Linked DNA regions of Homo sapiens: region 1 is linked to region 2. The links are contacts of gene promoters, found by promoter capture Hi-C in human tissues and cell types (Jung and others, 2019). All regions are on one chromosome and are shown on one strand. The core of a region is centred on a gene start or on the middle of the fragment in contact, and the rest is flanking DNA. Distances in the headings are between cores, read along the strand shown. Region 1 has its middle 71 kb from the start of P3H2-AS1. Region 2 holds the start of CLDN1 (claudin 1).

Region 1 (3,890 bases), core at 525-3,024, 130 kb before region 2:
CAACATCACTCTTCTCACAATTTTTTATTTTATAAAAAGATAATTACTTTTCGGCCAGGCACGGTGGCTCATGCCTGTAATCCCAGCATTCTGGGAGGCCAAGGCAGGTGCATCACATGAGGTCAGGAGTTACAAATCAGCTTGACCGACATGGTGAAACCCTGTCTTTACTAAAAATACAAAAAATTAGCCGGTCGCGGTATGCCCCTGTAATTCCAGTCACTCAGGAGGCTGAGGCAGGAGAATCGCTTGAATCCGGGAGGCAGAGTTTGCAGTGAGCTGAAATCGCACCACCACACTCCAGCCTGGGCAACAGAATGAGACTTGATCTCAAAAAAAAAAAAAGTTATTGTTTATAATTATGTGATTTATGTTAACATATAATGGGTTTATTAAATAAAATAAATAAATAATTTGGAAAGTCCCCAGTTTTCATTTCTAATATAGGAAATAGCAATAGATGTAACCTACATAAACAGAAGCACTTTGGAATCCTCAATATTTTCAAGAGTATAAGGAGGTCAAGAGACCAAAAAGTTTGAGAATAGTTATTATAGTGCAGAGCTTCTTAAACTTTAGTATGTGTATTAAATTTCTGCATATGTATAATATGTTAAACCGCATGCTGATTCTCTAGGTGCGATGGTTCATTTTATGTCAACTTGACTAGCACACTGGGGTGCCCAGATATTTGATCAAACATTATTTTGGGTGTGTCCATGAGGGTGCTTTTGGATGAGATTAACATTTGAATAATTGAACTGAATAAAAAATAAAGCGGGTTGCCCTCTAACATGAATGGGGCACATTCAATCAGTTGAAGACCTCAATAGAAGTAAAGGCTGAACCTTTCATGAGTAGCAGTGAATTTCCTCCTGCCTAACTGTCTTGAGCTGGCATATCAATTGATGTATTCCTTCGAACTAAAACTGAAGCATCTTGGGTCTTGAGCCTATAGCCCTTCACACTGAAACTATACCATTGGCTCTCTTGGGTCTCCGGCCTGCTGACAGCATATTTTGGGAATTGTCAGACTCCATAATTTTGTGAGCCAATTCTTTGGAGAACCCCGATCAATCCAGTACTTCTGGGGTGGTACCTGAGATTCTGCATTCTGTCTACCTTCCAGATGATCTTGGTCCATGGACCACACTTCTAGGAGCAGAGGTCAGAGCACCAACGTAACCTGGGAGTTTATTACAAACACAGAACCTCAGACCCTGAGTTCAGACCCAGTGAATCAGAATCTTCATTTTTAACAAGATTCTTAGCTGGCCCATTTGCACACAATAATTTAAGAAGCACTGTTCCAGCGTGGTAGTAATCAGTCCTGAGTATGGAGTAGAATCGCCTGAATAGCATTAAAAAACAAACAAACAAATGATGTCTAGACTCCACTCCAATTAAATCAGAATCTCAGAGAATAGAGCCTGGATGGGTTTTAAAAACTGCACAGATGACATTAATGTGCAGTCATGAATGAAAACTATTGGTCAAAAATAAAGACTGAAGGCCAACAATGACCGTCTTTGAGGCTCTTAATGAAAGAAAATTAATTATCTAGATGCTAGGATGGAAGTCAAAGATCTTAAACAAATATAGTATTTCTGGAAATTGACTCAATAGTTAACCAAGCAGTCAAACCCTTGACTAAAACACCAAAGGAAATATAGCACTACTGTGTATAAGAAAAAAACTGTACAATTTACTTTGTATTTTTAAATTTTTATTTATTTCTTTATTTTTTGAGATGGCATTTTGCTCTTGTTGCCCAGGCTAGAGTGCAATGGTGCGATCTCAGCTCACTGCAACCTCCACCTCTTGGGTCCAAGCAATTCTCCTGCCTCAGCCTCCTGAGTAGCTGGGATTACCTGCATGCACCACCACGCCCAGCTAACTTTTTGGATTTTTAGTAGCGACGGGGTTTCTCCATGTTGGTCAGGCTGGTCTCGAACTCCCGACCTCAGTTGATCCACTTGCCTTGACCTCCCAAAGTGCTGGGATTACAGGCGTGAGCCACCGCGCCCGGCCGTACAGTTTCTTATGTGTTTGATATCTTCTTCCTGGTGTGAGGACTTAGCTTTGAGTGTTAACCGAAAATTCTAAGTCTAGGGTTCCTAAGTTGTTATGTGCTGCACTATACAAGTAAACCTACAGAGATGGAAGTGTTCTTAGAGATTATCTAGTCCAAGCACTTCATTTATAGGTAAAGAAACCGGGGCTCAGAGAGGGCGATTCACTCACAATAGCAGGCAGCATAATTTAGTAGCAGCAACAGACCTGAGTTAACTCATAGCCCTTACATTTCCCCTGGAGTCATCCCTTTGTTCCCACAACAAGTTACACACTTCCATCAGTACTCCCTGCAGCCTGTAAGTACAGTGATCACAATGCCTCCTCGAAATTCTGCTCACTGTTGATTGACTATTGTATATACTAGGCATTTATGTATTCATGATTGTTTACCTAGTCATTCATTCAACAACTGTTCATGGAGCCTCCACCACATGGCACCAGGAAACTAGTACACTTGATTGAAAATAGTTATTTCATCACATTACCATTGTTTGTAGAATTGTTTAATAAATTTCAGGTCTCCTGATTTCCACTTCAGTGTTCATATAACTGCATGTCCTACTGTCCTCCTTGGCACATGAAGATGGCTGAAAAAACTGAACTGTTCACCCAGCTGGGCAAGTAGGACTAGGACCTAGATTTCTGGAACCATTACATTGTCCTCTCTACAAACGAACTATGGCTTTAAGACCAAACATTGATGCTGGAAATAATTAGTAACTGAAAGCTCCTCCCAGGTTTTCCTCTTTTCTCTGAAAATAGAAGTATTTAAAAAGAGAGAGAGGGAGTATGAGAGAAAAAGGAAAGAAAAGAAAAGGCACACTGTTTGATGTACTGTATGTTGGAAAGCTTTGGAAAAATTTATAATGTGCTCTGTACTCAGAGACAAAATTTTCCAAGAGGACATTTATACAATTTCTTCCAAGAGTCTGCATCCTGTTATACTCTGGAAGAAGTGACCTCATGGTGTTTGTATTTGTCTCTCTCACAAAACCTCTTTTATAGTATTAATGCATGTGCAGGTCTTAGGATATGTAATACATGAGGCCCTGACTTGGGCAGGTCATTCTGAGAACACGCTGCTACTTTCATAATGGCATCATCTTGTTTTATAGTGGCAGAGGGGATGGGCGGAGGAGAGCCAGCTAGGAGAAAGTTCTATGCCAAGTCATTTGGAAAATATAAGCTACAAGCAATTGAGGGAACCTAATAAATTTGAAGGATATTAAAAAGCGATACATGTTACTAGTCTCAGAAGAATTAACAGTAATCACTATAACCCCTTACAGCATATTAGAATTACAGTAGTTCCCTCTTACCTGTGTTTTTGCTTTCCATGCTTTCAGTTACCCACAGTCCAGAAATAATAAATACAAAATTCTAGAAATAAACAATGCATACGTTTAAAATTGCAAGCTGTTCTGAGTAGCATGACAAAAACCTCACACCATCCCACCCAGGGCGTGAGTCATCCTTTTGTCGAGGGTATCCACGCTGTGTATGCTGCACACTCACTAGTCACTTCACCCTTTTGGTTATCAGATTGTCACAGTGTCAGGTGCTTGTATTCAAATGACCCCAATTTTACTTAATAATGGTTCCAAAGCACAAGGGTAGTGATGCTGGCCTATTGTTATAATTGTTCCATTTGATTGCTGTTGTGTTTACCTAGTTTATAAATGAAATTTTATCATAGGTTTGTATGTATCGGAAAAAAAACAATATATATAGGGCTTGGTGCTGAGGTTTCAGGCACCGCCGGGGTCCTTGGAACATACCCGCTGTGGATAAGGGGTACTACTACTATCTAAGGT
Region 2 (3,891 bases), core at 177-2,676:
GTCTCTCTATACAATCCTTTCCAGTTTTACAGGGGGTCACTGAACATCCATTACACAGAAATTTCTTTGTGGAAGATGGAAACCTAAGGAAGACCCACCTCTTCTTTCTCTCTCACTGCCTTCCACTCCCAGCTGACCTCTGATTTCATCAGCTATGACTATTTTGCTGCATTTCCCTTCAGTGCCTTTACTTTTTTCTTTGTATTATGTTGCGCAGGTTATTTAGAACCTTTCTTGTCAGCCTTTCCCCACCTGCCACCAACCTTCTCTTTCCAAGATAGCACTACACCGTCAGCCTCTACAGAAGACCTTGGGTCTGAAAATTAAAACTTCGGGGGAATCTCAAGCAGCTTCTCCAAAGAGTCTTGCAAGGGGCCTCCCTGCACTAACTGGATCTTATAAATTAAAAGAATCAACCTCAAGCATAAGCAGAAGACACTTAGATAGGACATTTCCAGTAGGAATGTAACTTTTACTATGAAAAAATCATATTAAAGGTTAAAAAGTTATATCTAATACTTGAGGATTATTTATTTAAGCGTGCACACTTGAGAAGTTACCAGGCTTCAAACTTTTTCAGTCATCCCATTTTCTTGTCTGAACTCTACCAATCCTCAATTTACCCCAAATCTCGGAATGCCTAGGAGAGGTCTAAGAGCTCAAGTTCAAGTTTGGCCTTCACTCCCTCAACTCGAACCACCAGCATAGGAATTTAGGATGAAGCCACACCTAGAGTGGCAGAAGTGTCACCCAGGGAGTTAGAGGCAAAACTAGAGCTTATGCCTGGGCGTCGCTTTCCTCAAACCAGGATTCTCTTCATTTCCTTATGACAGAGCACATGATCAGAAGACTTGATCAACTGAAGACTGATAACCATGGAATCACACAACAGAATGAGCCCATAAGGGAGCTGCAGGGGGACTGGGGCCTCTGGACGGCCGCTGTGAGGTGGGGGTGCACTCACTGCTCAGATTCAGCAAGGAGTCAAAGACTTTGCACTGGATCTGCCCGGTGCTCTGCGACACGCAGGACATCCACAGCCCCTCGTACATGGCCTGGGCGGTCACGATGTTGTCGCCGGCATAGGAGTAAATCCTCCACTGGGGCAGGGCAGTGCTGACGATGGCGCCGATCCATCCCAGGAAGGCGAGAATGAAGCCCAACAGCTGCAGCCCCGCGTTGGCCATGACTCGCTCGGGCGCCCGCGCTGGCTCAGGGGTGGCAGGTGCAGAAGGCGGAGAGTTTGCAGGTGGGCAACCCGGACTCCCGAAGGTGGCTGGGCCCCGCGGAGGAAGTTAAGGCGGGGAGCCCTGCTCGCTGCGCCGCCGCTGGAGAAGCTCTGGGTCGGGGTTGGGGTCCGCGCCCGGGGCGGCGCTGGAGTCTGGATACTAGAAGCTGCGGTTGCTCCCAGGCTCGGGAACTGAGACGCAGAACCGCTGGGCGCCGCGATTTAAAGCAGCTCCGCCCGCCTCAGCCCCGGCAGCCGGGGAGCGCCCCCTGGCGGTTTCAGGGCGGCTCACCGAGAGGGCGCCGGGAGCGCCCGGTTGGGGAACGCGCGGCTGGCGGCGTGGGGACCACCCGGCAGGACCAGGCACCAGAGCTGCGTCCCTGCTCGCTTTCTCTCGTGGATCTTCTCGCTCCTGTAAGGCGTTTCACGCTTTTCATTCATTCACTCCAATTATCCAAAAATTACTATGCACTGTACTTGTAAATCCTAACACAAAGATGAAAAAATGATCCTTCAAGAGCTGCAGTTTTAGGTTTAATACTTTTTTCCCAATATCTTATTAAAAGGCATTTCTACCCAACTCCGCGTCTCCTCCCCCATCACACCATTTCTCTCTCCTTTGCTTGGCTTCCTCCCCCTTCTTTCCTCTCTCTGCTCTCTTCTGTCAAGGTCGTTCCATCACTTGTCTCTGCAAGGAGCCTCAGAGACTTTTACACTCTACAGATTGGGAAACAGACCCAGAGAGCAACATGATTTACACACACACACACACACACACACAGACACACTCACGCACGGAGCATATCCAGTACTTGGCTCCCCTCCCAATCTGCTTTCCACTACATATCAAGTTGACCCAAAATATCCCCTTTGATCTATGATTGTCCTTTTTGATGTATTATTGTCCTTATGAAACTGCAGGCTAGCAGCCCTTCCCCGCCAAACACCAACCTCCTCCCCACAGCAGTTATGTCTTAGAGCAGCAATTCATTATCAGAGGGACCTGGCCAGTGCCCCGCTCTCCCTGAAAGGTGTTAATTTTGTGAGTTATCAAATGTTGTTCGTCGCAGGTGAGGACATGTAAACAGCGTTTCCCCAGTGGCAAAAGGACTGGGCTGGAGTTGAGGAAGTCTGGGCTCTGGTTCCAGCTTTTACTGTGACTGGCTATCTCACCCCTCCGGTTTCGGTCTCGCTGGGACTGTAGTTTCCCTCTATGTTTCTCCAAAGCTTCCTTCTTTGTAGTTAGTCAGAAGTGCTGTTGTGGTTAGGAATCATTGAAATGTTTTTCCAACTGCTTTTTGTGTGTGGTGCGAGTGTGGTGGGAGGGGAAGCTTCTATGGTTTTAGTAAAAACAGAAGCATCTTGGAAGCAGAAATAAACATATTAAGGATAAAATAAGATATACCCTTATATACCATGGCAACTGCTAGTTGGTGACAGAGAAGGAAAGGTGCAAATTCTCAAGGTGGGAATGGGAAGAAAGGCCAAGCCCCACCACCTTCATTTCCACCTGGCTCTCCCTGGATGCCTTTCATGTAGGCTTAAAACTAAAGGACTTGGCCGTGCTAGGATTTAGGGACAAGCAATGAAGAATGTAAGACAGGAGCTAGATGAAGACAATTAATTTGGACTGAGATTAACACAGTGAATACTGTCTTTCTCCTATCAGCTGTTTAGGACAAGACCATGTTCGTGTTGTATCCCAGGGTTAGGGCCTGCAGTCAGTACTACTGTCTAGGTCTCAGTGGATGTTCTGTGGGTGCCTGTCAGTGTGGATGAAGATGTATCAATCACATTTGATTTTGTAAAAATTCCCTGATCAGAGAAGGCACTGGAATTTGCTGCAGGACTAGAGCAGTACCATGTGAATCATATAATCTCATTTTCTTCTTTTTTTTGTTCCAAACATTTAAGAATTAAAAGTATTATTAAACACCCGGGCACGGTGGCTCAGGCCAGGCGCAGTGGCTCACGCCTGTAATCCCAACACTTTGGGAGGCTGAGGCAGGCGGATCACTTGAGATCAGGAGTTCGAGATCAGCCTGGCCAACATGGTGAAACCCCGTCTCTACTAACAATATGAAAATTAGCCGGGCATGGTGGTGGGCGCCTGTAATTCCAGCTACTTGGGAGGCTGAGGTAGGAGAATTGCTTGAACCCGGGAGGCGGAGGTGGCAGTGAGCCCAGATCGTGCCACTGCACTCCAGCCTGGGCAACAGACCAAGACCCCATCTCAACAAATAAATAAATAAATAAATAAACAAATAAATGACATTTTCTGCGTTCAGTAAATATATTTGTGCACAGGCCCTTTTACTCTGCATTACAACTGGTTTCTATCAACCTACAATTAGCGGGGAATCGGAGGGATGAGTTCTGTGGTCAGCAGGGTCCCGTGTTTTTGTTTTGTATTTCAGGTCTGTGCGAGGCTGATTACTTCACTACCCACAACCATGTTTGTGAGGCTGAGGTGAATGCTGTTTGCTTCACTGTGATTCAGGCCCATCTCTAGGCATCCTTAATCCTGTCTAGTTTTCTGCTCCTAGCTTAAGTGCAGAGGACAGGTGAGATAATGGCTCAGCATAAATCTATCAACTTAAGAGGAAAAACAGCTTCCAAATACTGGCCTTTCATATCTGAAACATAAACAGTAAAGGCAGCAC

What was found. The method cuts DNA at HindIII sites, captures the fragments that hold promoters and counts their contacts. A contact is called where the count stands out against the background at its distance.
Region 1: a contact is called between a fragment that was not itself captured here and the fragment with the promoter of CLDN1 in region 2, in 1 of the 25 tissues and cell types used here (lymphoblastoid cells).

The regions. Positions count from the first base shown.
Region 1 is chr3:190,189,857-190,193,746 of GRCh38, forward strand. No RefSeq gene overlaps it. Among named protein-coding and RNA genes, the nearest start is that of P3H2-AS1, 71 kb to the left of the region's middle. RefSeq lists an enhancer at 3,068-3,257. The HindIII fragment of the contact is 5,895 bases long and covers 1-3,890 here.
Region 2 is chr3:190,321,020-190,324,910 of GRCh38, forward strand. CLDN1 (claudin 1) reads right to left here and starts at 1,427. Exons shown (of 4, transcript NM_021101.5): 1 at 965-1,427. The coding sequence starts at 1,187. It also overlaps a transcript of CLDN16 not described here. RefSeq lists a silencer at 1,418-1,577. The HindIII fragment of the contact is 5,719 bases long and covers 1-3,309 here.